3 separate regions of the Homo sapiens genome follow, and all the other regions are linked to region 3. The links are contacts of gene promoters, found by promoter capture Hi-C in blood cells and fetal thymus (Javierre and others, 2016). All regions are on one chromosome and are shown on one strand. Each heading gives the region's core, a stretch centred on a gene start or on the middle of the fragment in contact. The rest is flanking DNA. Distances are from core to core; before and after follow the strand shown. Region 1 has its middle 28 kb from the start of MACF1. Region 2 has its middle 76 kb from the start of MACF1. Region 3 holds the start of BMP8A (bone morphogenetic protein 8a).

Evidence for each region. Contacts are between HindIII fragments. The CHiCAGO score rates a contact against its expected background, and 5 or more counts as called.
Region 1: a fragment that was not itself captured here is called in contact with the fragment with the promoter of BMP8A in region 3 in 2 of 17 cell types (fetal thymus and total CD4 T cells); the score reaches 5.9 in fetal thymus.
Region 2: a contact is called between a fragment that was not itself captured here and the fragment with the promoter of BMP8A in region 3, in 1 of 17 cell types (total CD4 T cells). The highest score is 5.4, in total CD4 T cells.

What each region holds. Positions count from the first base shown.
Region 1 is chr1:39,175,079-39,178,494 of GRCh38, reverse strand. It overlaps a transcript of MACF1 not described here. Among named protein-coding and RNA genes, the nearest start is that of MACF1, 28 kb to the left of the region's middle. The HindIII fragment of the contact is 180 bases long and covers 1,512-1,691 here.
Region 2 is chr1:39,127,145-39,130,932 of GRCh38, reverse strand. It overlaps a transcript of MACF1 not described here. Among named protein-coding and RNA genes, the nearest start is that of MACF1, 76 kb to the left of the region's middle. The HindIII fragment of the contact is 1,345 bases long and covers 1,538-2,882 here.
Region 3 is chr1:39,489,885-39,493,625 of GRCh38, reverse strand. It overlaps BMP8A (bone morphogenetic protein 8a), which reads right to left and starts at 1,990. Exons shown (of 7, transcript NM_181809.4): 1 at 1,301-1,990. The coding sequence starts at 1,634. It overlaps LOC124904101 (a long non-coding RNA gene), which reads left to right and starts at 2,078. Exons shown (of 2, transcript XR_007065978.1): 1 at 2,078-2,937; 2 at 3,499-3,741. RefSeq lists silencers at 1,662-1,761, 1,862-2,491. The HindIII fragment of the contact is 20,371 bases long and covers 1-3,741 here.

The sequences.
Region 1 (3,416 bases), core at 352-2,851, 310 kb after region 3:
GAGGGAAAAAGAGAAAAATGCTTTTACTACCCCTTTCAAGGAGTATGATAGGACAAAAAGACAAAGGAAATCCAAAATTGGCTTCCCCAAGAGCAAAGACTTACAAACTACCTGTATTTCTATATTTCTTATATTTTAAGGTTTCAGGAAAGGTGTTAGTACATGTGCACTGTCTGTGAGGTACTAAGATTATGTTCAGTACATAAACGAATGAAAACCACCATGGCACATGTATACCTATGTAACAAACCTGCACATTCTGCACATGTATCCCAGAACTTAAAGTAAAATTTAACCAAAAAAAAAAAAAAAAGAATGTTGAAAAGGAAAATTACAATGTAAGGTAGCACACTGGCTGACCTTTATGGGCTTACTGAGGACACAAATATAACCTCATACTCCTCTCCTGGAATTTGTAAGGAGAAGACAATGGGGAATAAAGATTTCCCTGACAGCCTAAAGATTTCCCTGACAGCCCAGATTCTGCGGAAATCCCCCTCTCGGTGATCCCATTTCTCAACTTGATTGAAATAACTACCACCCAGATTCCTGGAAATTGCCATTTTACTTATTCAATGGGGAGTTTTATTGCCATGGCAGTGCAGCTTTCATAGCTACAGGATTTCAGCATTATGCTCACCCAAATGATTCTTAAAACTTAAGAGTCACTGAGAAAGGCCTAAGGGCACTTCAGAAAGCAATGGCTTTCCCATTCACCACAGCTTCTGGTATAGATGGCAAAGGAAATAGTGCCCGGAGCAAAACTGAGATGTTTCCCAGTTACCTCTTGGAGCTGACTCTCTGAAAGATGGTTATATTATCAATGCCAATCAGAAACTAGGCATGGAGATTACAGTCCTACCTTCCTCTATGAACACAAATACGCCTGCCCCCACCATCATCCCTCTCTCCATTAGCAATAACATTTACGAATGATATGTGGAGTGGCTCCTGGACCCCTCTCTGATGTTCCCTTTTTGCACAGCAAAATGATGACAGCCAGGGACTGATGATGCAGTTATTTGTACATTAGGCATCAATCTGGAAAACTCCTTCTATAGAAACAGTAGTTAGGCCGGGAAAGGTGGCTCACGCCTGTAATGCCAGCACTTTGGGAGGCCGAGGCGGGTGGATCACATGAGGTCAGGAGTTTGAAACCGGCCTGACCAACACGGAGAAACTCCGTCTCTACTAAAAATACAAAATTAGCTGGGCGTGGTGGCACATGCTACTCAGGAGGCTGAGGCAGGAGAATCGCTTGAACCTGGGAGGCGGGGGTTGTGGCGAACCAAGATTGCGCCATTGCACTCCAGCCTGGGCAACAAGAGCGAAACTAGGTCTCAAAAATAAATAAATAAAAATCTCCTTTTCTCAAACCTCTAGTCTGATGACAGCGATTCTCAGTCCTTAGGCCCCAACGTAGCTCTAAGATCTCTAGACTATCTCAAGAGATACTACATAATTCTCAAATATATCTTTGAAACCGGACTAATTTTAACCCTCTTAAAGCTTATATTACTTAGCATTTTTGTTAAAGGAAGGAACTGTAATAAAATTAAACAAAAGAAAAAAAGTCACAATTCAAGGATCTTACTAAAGATTACTCCTAGCCAAGGCTTCAACAGCAAGCAATGTGATTTGGAGGAAAGGCATTCAACTGTACATCAGAACCCTGGGTCATGGTTTAAGCTTGTCAATAACTAGTTATATCACTTGGCCCAAGTATCCTTTGACTTCTCCAGGTGGGCTCAGTTCCTCATCTATCTTTTCATGACACTATGAATTTGGGATTGATCTAAAAACCTATTGATCTAAAAACCTGACTATTAAACATCTAGAGATAGAACCAGTGATGCTTAGTAAGTATAACAAGAATTCATATCTAGCTCCCCAAGCATAAGCAGAAATTTTCTACAGAAAAATGACTAAAATGGGGGGAAAAAGAAGGAAAGAGCCTCATATGCAAGGTATAAGAATCAAAAGTTAGAGGACCTAAAAGGAGGAGAGTGGAAGCTATGATTACAGAATTTAAACGAAGAGGACTATTAGAAGTCTTCCCTTCCTACTCTCAATTCTCCTTTAAATAATTTTGAATAACGAAAATGACTAAGAAATGGGACAAGCTAACACACAAATAAGCATTCTGGGTAAGAGAAGAATTGTTGTGTGCTATAAAATGGATTTAGAAGAAGAAAGTGAGAATTTTTTTTTTTTTTGGAGACAGAGTCTCACTCTGCCACTCAGACTGGAGTGCAGAGGTGTGATCTCGGCTCACTGCAACCTGGGTCTCCCGGGTTCAAGTGATTCTCCTGCACTAGCCTCCCTCCTGAGTAGCTGGGATTACAGGCGCCTGCCACCACACCTGGCTTTTTTTTTTTTTTTTTTGAGAAGGAGTCTCGCTCTGTCGCCCAGGCTGGAGTACAGTGGCGCAATCTCAGCTCACTGCAAGCTCCGCCTCCCGGGTTCATGACATTCTCCTGCCTCAGCCTCCCGAGTAGCTGGGACTACAGGTGCCCGTCACCACACCTGGCTAATTTTTTTTTTTTTTTTTTTGTATTTTTAGTAGAGACAGGGTTTCACCATGTTAGCCAGGATGGTCTTGATCTCCTGACCTTGTGATCCACCCTCCTTGGCCTCCCAAAGTGCTGGGATTACAGGCGTGAGCCACTGCACCTGGCCACACCCGGCTAATTTTTGTATTTTTAGTAGAGAGAGGCTTTCACCACGTTGGCCAGGCTGGTTTCAAACTCCTGGCCTCAAGTGATTCGCCTGCCTCAGCCTCCCAAAGTGCTGGGATTATAGGTGTGAGCCACTGCCCCCGGCAGTGAGGATTTTTAAAAGGGAAGAAGAAATTAGAAAAACAGAAAGCAGAAAAGAAGGATAAAATACAATCACAACATACTTGCATTTAACTATGCAAACTTGACCAGGAAGAGAAAAATAAACAGTACAAAAGTTTGCTCACAATTCCACTCAATGAGGTTTTACACCAAAGTGAAGTTATTTACCAGGATGAACATGAGCATGAGATGAGAGGACTTGAATCTGAGACTTTAGCATGTCTAAGTCCGGTGTGCCTCTTCACATTGTGAGCATTCTGAATGCTGTACATGATTCTAGTTTTTGAGAATACTTATTTTTTCATATAAAATGTCTCCTAATTACAGGCCAACTATTTCATATGGTATTCCAACTTTGTTCTGGCATATACACAAAACCATGTTTATATACTTTAATTTCTGGGTCATTTGAGATATTTTCCATGATAATTTTGATTATTTGGAATCCTCACTTTATGTGTAAACTTTACAACCTAACCTCCTGCAGGAAGATGAGATTTTACTTTGCAAGAGAGGATGGAGCAAGGTGGGGGAGGGAGAAGGCAGCCAAGAAAGTCCTTCTAAAAACTAAAGACA
Region 2 (3,788 bases), core at 961-3,460, 360 kb after region 3:
GAGGCGGAGGTTGCAGTGAGCCGAGATCACACCATTGCACTCCAGCCTTGGGCAACAAGAGCAAACTCCATCTCGAAAAAAAAAAAAGTAAAGAAAAGAAAAGGGGTAAAAAAAAGTTGGCTTAGAATTCTTCACTTCTTAGCCACAGCATCTAGGGAACGTTGATTTACCCAGCAAAAGGAACCCTTTTCTCAAGGAATCTCTGAAAATATTTTCACTTTCTTCATTCCCAACTTAACACATCCAAATGATGCTGCTCAAAATTTCAAGGATATAAATTAGTATGACATATAAGAGCAGGAACATCTCCACAATAGAAGAGAACTCTTGAGTCAGCTCTTGTAGGAAGTTCTGCAAAACCGCACCCAGGAAACTTGATCTGAACAATGAGATGAGTGTACTAACTTTTCCCTACTGTCAGTACTTCCCAGAGCCAGAGAATGGGACATGTAGGAGGATTTATCTGAAAACAGAGAAAGGAGTAGAAACCAAAACTCACATCATTCCCATAGGCCAAAACTCCCCACCAAGGCAGTCTCAGTACCATTTCAATGTTTAATGTGACTACAAAAGGTCATTTAGTATTGTTATTGCCTCCAGGCTAGTTACAGCTAAATCATGCCACAAAAAATAGGGAGGCATCTAGCCTAATGTTTTTAAAGCTAAAGCCCAATCATTAGAAATATATTAGGGTGTTGGCTATATTTATACTCTGTTCAAAGGACCAGTAATCTTCATCTTCTGATAATGAGAAGAATTCCCCATGAATGGGGGGGAAAAATAAACTCTGAAAGGGATCTTTTCCCCTTCGGGGGCAGGTACCGACATTTCAACACAAGACTTTGAGTCCAAAATACTCAGAGAAAAAAAAAATGGAGTGGGGCCTTTCTATTAACAAAAAGAATATTGTATTAGGAGACCTCAAGACCCCTAAATCAAGCAATCAAAACATTCTGCTCCCTAAGCCACAGCCACAGAAGAGTTAAAACCATCAAACTCCATTTCCTTTCCTCTCCATTTCAAATCATTTGGGGGAGGGGAGGAGGAGTGGAATAGAAAGACAGGTTGCAGTCAAAGTCTGGACAGCTAAAGGCAGGGTGGTCCACTGCATATGTGAACCTCAGAGATGGGAATGATAACTAACCAATAATGTGTGTGTGATAGGAGGGTGTCAGTGAAGGAGAAAAATAAGATGGGGCAAAAGGAGTTAGCAGGAATAGAAACAAGAGGTTTTACACTACTTCAATAGCAACCTCTACTGGCAAATGCAAGGAGGTCCTGGCCACCCTTAAGGTCTAGGGCTGGTAAGACAAGTGAGAGAAAGGATTATGCCCATCCCTGGTCTTACTCTGACTGTCCTGCATTTTTCTCCTGGATTTCCTAAATCTAACCTAAGCCTTTTCTCCAGATTCACTCTAATGAGAAAGTAAGTAGATGGCTGGTACAGTTTTATAGCAAAGAAAATAAATGGCAATTAACAACTGGTTTGCACCAGAGAAGCCAGTTTGCCTAATTAGCCTGCTGGTTCCAAGAAGCTTCTCTCTGCAATACGCCAGCCTTTAATATTTATGTTTTTAATAAAGCCATATCCCCACCTCTCACAAGGTAGCATCCTCCCATCCATCCCCTTTTCAGCCCTCTTCCTACACTTACTATCTCTTTTTCCCAATGTGAAGTCTTGAATCCCACCCACTAAAGGAGAAAACATAACCTGTTGCACAAGTATTTCATTTACGGGCAGTTCTCTCAGGCACACACCCCATCTTGACAGGCAGCCAAGATGATGTCAGCCAGGTAAGTGTTCCCTTAGGCTTCCGGCTCTAAGCACCTGATCTTTAGAAGGGTGTGAAGTACTAACAAAATCCAATCACATCAACATTTACTGAGTACTTGCTAAATGTAGGACATTGTGTTAGGCAAAATTGGGACTAGAAAGAATAAATCACCATGAGCCCAAGCAGCACAATCTAACTGGGCAAATGTGTGATAAGTTAAATAACAAATAATAAAATACAAGTGACGATACACGGCATTTCATGGTCAACTGGCAAATGAGTGGTAGAAATTAATGCTATGAGTTATGAAGCAGAATGAGTTATCATGGGTTAGCTTTCCAGTGGATTAATGTAAAAGGGAGGACTTGAACTGAGCTTCAAAGGTAAGTAAAATTTTACCAGGAGGTGAGGGAAAGACTACAGAAAAGGGTGCAATAGCAGAAATCTTTTTTTTTTTTTGAGACGGAGTCTCACCCTGTCACCCAGGCTGGAGAGCAGTGGCGTGATCTCGGCTCACTGCAAGCTCCACCTCCTGGGTTCACGCCATTCTCCTGCCTTAGCCTCCCGAGTAGCTAGGACTACAGGCGCCCGCCACCACGCCTGGCTAATTTTTTTTTGTATTTTTAGTAGAGACGAGGTTTCACCGTGCTAGCCAGGATGGTCTTGATCTCCTGACCTTGTGATCCATCAGCATCCCAAAGTACTGGGATTACAGGCGTGAGCCACCGTGCCTGGCCCTATGGCAGAACTCTTAAGTATCAAAGGGAGACTCAAAAGTAAGGCAGCCCAGTGCAGTGGTGCAGTCCTGTAGTCTCAGCTACTCAGGGGGCACTGCTTAAGACCAGGAGTTTGAGGCTGCACTGTGCTATGATGGTGCCTGTGAACAGCCACTGCACACTAGCCTGGGCAATGTAGCAAGACCCTGTCTCTAAAAAAAAAATAAAAAATAAAAATGTAAGCCAGATGTATGGTAATAAAAATAAATAAGAGGTAAGGCTCATGAGTCAAGAAGAGACACAACCAACCTAAAGGAATATAAAGGATGTAAAGGTGCAGTTCCAAAGCAAGCCTGGCAAGAAAAAACCTGTAAGGATACAAACCAAAGCTTGAACAGTGGTTACCCTGACCAGTGGGCCTAGGTGGAGAAAATAAAGACTAGAAAAGAGAATTTTTACTTTTTTCTTTGTAATTTCTGCTTAAATGTATTACAGTGAACATGTTTAATTTTGTAATAATACAAAAGAGAGTTACATAAACATAGCAGGCCTATGTTTTTTCCTCTTAATCACTAGGACATTTTTTTTTTTAAGTAACTTACAACATCTCACATCTGACTAGGGCCCCATGGCAAGACTGCAACCAGTAGGTAAGAAATGTGAACTGACTTCACATTCTCTTTCCCAATGAAAACAATAACAGCTCAAAGGAACACAAGTAAAGGTCACTTCCCTGACCCCTTAAGTTGGCACCATTCCAGAACTAGGAGTTTTTAGAGAAAAGGAGACTCAAGCCAAACAGTTCTATTCAAGGAAGTGAAGGAAAAGTATATACTGAGTTAAGAGCTGGAGTTCTGAAGTCCAACAGAGCTACACATAAATGACTGCTCTACCATTTACTGGGTGAGAGAACTTGAGCAAGTTATTTCACTGGCTGAGACCCACTTTTCTCCTCTGCAAAATGAGATAATCTATTTCACAGGGTTATCATGAGAATTAAGTGGATTAATGTATATAAAGTGCTTAACACAGTCCATTCCTGGCACATAGTAAGAAATTAATGAAAGCCACTATTATATTATTATTAAATCATTCAGCCCAGAAAACGAAGGAACTCCCACCAACGCTACACACCAGGTCCACCTCAGCTCTTTCCTAAATGCTGCCAAAAATCAAAATGCAGAATTAGCAGGACAAGAAGAGCTTTTATTTTCTTTTTGAGATAGAGTCTCTCGCTCTGTTGTCAGGCTGGCGTGCAGTGGCGTGATCTCAGCTCACTGCAATCACTGCCTCCTGG
Region 3 (3,741 bases), core at 741-3,240:
GCTCTGGGTTGCGGGAAGCAGAGGCTTGGCCATGCCCTCTTCTGCTCTAGTGTAGGAAGCAAATGGCTGATGGCCCCACAAGACCTGCTGCAGCTCAGTACCCTGTGTTCCTCAGCCCAGACTCCTCAGAAAGCTCTCTGCACCCTGAAAGCCTGACCTGACAACAGAAATGTCATCTCATTGAGCCCTGGATGGACAGTCAGGCTTCCTGGGCCTGTCCTGGCTCAGCAACATAGAGGCTGCGCTGTCCTAGGCATGGCGCTGCCTCTCTGAACCTCACTGTCCTCATCTGGGAGATGGGGATGAAGACCGTGGCTGTTATCAGGGTTGTCGGGAGGATGAAGAATTAATGATGCTGTCTGTGGAGGGAGGCTGGTGGCTGGGGCAGGTACCCACTCCCTGCTCTCAGCCCCACAGCTCCCCCACTTCGGGCTGAGCTGTGGTCCTTGGCTCCCAGACCCCGGCCTGTCACTAGCCACAGACAGGAGGCAAAGCAGACGGGGGACCTGACCAACAGTAACTACACGAGCATAGACCAAAGAGTTTAGTACTGGAAAAGAAAAATCTGAGATCTTAAGGAATAAATAGCTCCAGGGTTTGATACAAGATGTTTGCAGACAGGAAAAGCCCGGCTTTGCCTGGGAGAACACAGTGGGTCCAGCTGCCCACTGGGCCATTCCACAGGACCGGACACTCACCCTATACCAGGCCACATGCTAAGTGCAGGGCCCAGGGTGACAAGGCCACAGTCCCTGCCCCAGCGAGCTGAGTCTGCTCCTTCCCCAGCCGCTCCCCTGACAGCCGCACCCCACCCAGGCTCCGCACAGGGAAGAGCCTGCTGTGGACTCAGGGCACGCGACTCAGCTCTGGTCACTCCGATGATGTGACCACAGGTTTCCACGCTGAACTTTGTCCCTCTCCTCAGTACTGTCCTTATCACAGTGACAGCATCCCGGCCTCTGTTTACTCACCTGTCTCCCCAGGACCAGGCTGTCTTCCCGGGGCAGCCCAGGTGGGCAAAGACATCACCTAATTCTTACTCCTGGGTGTGTCTGGGGCAGGGTGAAGGCAGCGCCTGGGAGTCCACAGTCCCCCACACTCTGCTCCTGACCACCCCGCAGCCCAGGGGGCCCCCATGACCCTTAGACCTTCCCTAACCACGGCGGTCCCACTCCCCTGTGGTTCGCGTCCACCGTCTGTGATTCCCCGTTCGGCCAGGGCCCGGCACCGCCCGCGGATGCGCGCCCCTCCCCTGCAGCCAGCTTACTCCGAGGGTCCCCGCGCGGGCGGCCGCACTCACCCATGTTGACGAAGCTCATGACCAGGTCGGCGCGGCCCAGGCGCTGCTCCGCGGGCGCGCCGTCCTCGTCGTCGTCGCCAGCCATGGCGTGGTACAGGTCCAGCATGAAGAGCGGCGCGGACGCGGGCAGCCGGGAGGCGGCGGGTGGCGCGCGGGGCCGGGGCCGCCCGGGTAGCCCGAGCACCGCCAGGATCTCGCGCTGCACGTCCCGGCGCTCGCGCGCGCCCAGACGTCGCTGGGGACAGCCGGGCGGGGGTCGCAGGCCGGGGCCGCCCCCGCCCAGCGCGCACAACGTCAGGCCCAGAAGCCAGAGCGGTCCGGGGCGCGCGGCCATGGCGGGCCGGGGGCGCTCAGCGGGCGCACATCAGCTCCGCCGCCGCCCCTGGGCCCGGGGACGCCCCGACGGCGAACGGGGAGCTGAGTTCGGCGAGCAGGGGGCGGGGCTCGGCGGGCGGCGTCTGCGGCCTCAGCGCGGTCCCTGGAGCGCCCCCCGCGCGCACCTGCCCCGGCTCCGGGACAAGCGGACGCTGACGCGGACGCAGACGCCAACGCTTCGAGGCCGGGGCTGTTCTGAGGGCTGGGACTGTCAGCCAATCCGTCTGTCGCCGCCGTTCCCACCAGTCCGGCTGTGGCTGCGGTCCGCGCAGCGCAGGGGCGACCGGCGAGCTCCGGCAGCGACCCGGGCGGCGCGATTCCCGCGAGTCCTTGCCCCGGCTCAGCCGTCTGTGCCGCCCGCCCACCCCCGGGACTGACCAATGGGGGCGCGGGGGCGGGGCCTGGGCGCGGAGGCCGCGCCCGCTAGGAGCCCCGGGCGGCGGCAGGTGTTGCGGGTGGGGCGACCCCGAGGTGCGACCTCGGCGTGGCTGGCGGTTGGTCCGGGCGAGGAGCCCGCAGCCTGGGCGTCAGCGTGGTCAGGGCCGTCGTGGCTCCCGCCGCGGGCCTCGGCGCAGAGATCCTAAGGCCGCGGCGCCGTCCCGGTCCCGCCAGTGGTGCCACCCGGCTGCCTCGCCGTGGTGTGCCGTGGTCGCCACCGGGCCCGACACGCGGCCGTAGCCCCGTCTGGAGAGCCGGGCGGTGCCAGCCAAGCCCCGCGGGTGGGGCCTGTTCCTCTGCCCGCAGCAGCCGGCCCGGGTTCCGGCCACCGCGGCCCCTCACCGCCTCCTGGCGCCTTCCCCGTGGCCCCTGCATGCGCTTCTGCGGGCGCCTCCTTCTCGGCACCTGCTCGGCTGCTTCTCCCTGCGTCCCCCACCTGGCTCCCGCGTGAGCCCAGGCAGCGCCCCAGTCGGGCCGCCCCCGCCAGCCCTAGCTGTGCGCCCTGCGTCCCCGGTACTGATCCAGCTTTGCGGAGGAGGCTCCGCCTCCTGCCTCCAGCTGGGCCAGAAGCTCTGGGGCCCTTCCCGAGCACTCGGGAGCCACCTGTGCACATCTTCTCAGTCCCCACGGCCCCGGTGCAGGCCTGCCAAGAGAAGGATCCCCGCGGAAACGTCTCGACTGACTCAGTCCCTTTCTGCACACCTGCTCTTCCCTGGGCGCGCTCTCGCCTTACTTATTCCTGTGTGGTTCAGGCGCTGCGGAAGGAGAAGGCACCTAGACTGCACTGGGAAGGCTCCTGGAGTTGACCTGGAGCGCCAGGAAAGGTCAGTGGAGGAAAGTGCTCCAGGCAGAGGGAATAGCTTGTGCCAAGGCCCTGAGACCCCGGCTGGGGAGCCTAATAATGGCAACAGTCAGCACTTGCCACGCCAAGGCATGTTCTGAGTGTGTGTCTCGTGTCATTTCTGTGATGCTCGCACATCGTTAGGGGGTACATACCACTGGAACCTCCTCTTTTAATAAATGAGGAAACTGAGGCACACGGCGGTTAAGGGACTTACGCCAGGTCACACAGCAGTGGAGCTGCGCTCGGGCAGGGGGGCAGTGGAAACTGGAGAGCCCAGGGGGCAAACGGCGGAGGCTGGAGGGGCTGGCAAGGGAGGCACCGCAAAGGGCCTCACAGGGGCTAGACGAGGGCCCTGGGCACCAGAGATTATGGTGCCCCGCCATGTGGATTGAAGATTAAACCTCGAAGCAAGTGTATAATGCCCCCAAAAATCACATTTGGAAGTCATCACTTCAATAAAATTTTCTACAACAAATTCTTAATCTAAATAGTCATTTGCTGGTGCCTTAAACACACGCCTAGTTTGTCTTTTACCCAACAGGTATATTTCCACACTGCTCGTAAATTTTCTGCGCGGTCCCCAGAGCGCCCCCCATGAGGCACCTGCATCAGCTCCGGGCAGAGCAGATGTGGATGCCACCGCCTAGAAGCCGGGGCTACCCTGCGGACTGGGACTGTCCCATAAGGATACTGAGCTAAGGATAATGCAGAATAACCGTTGAAAGTACCCAAGACCAGAGCTTGGAAGCAGAGCGGAATATGGATCAGAGGGAGACAGGAGTCA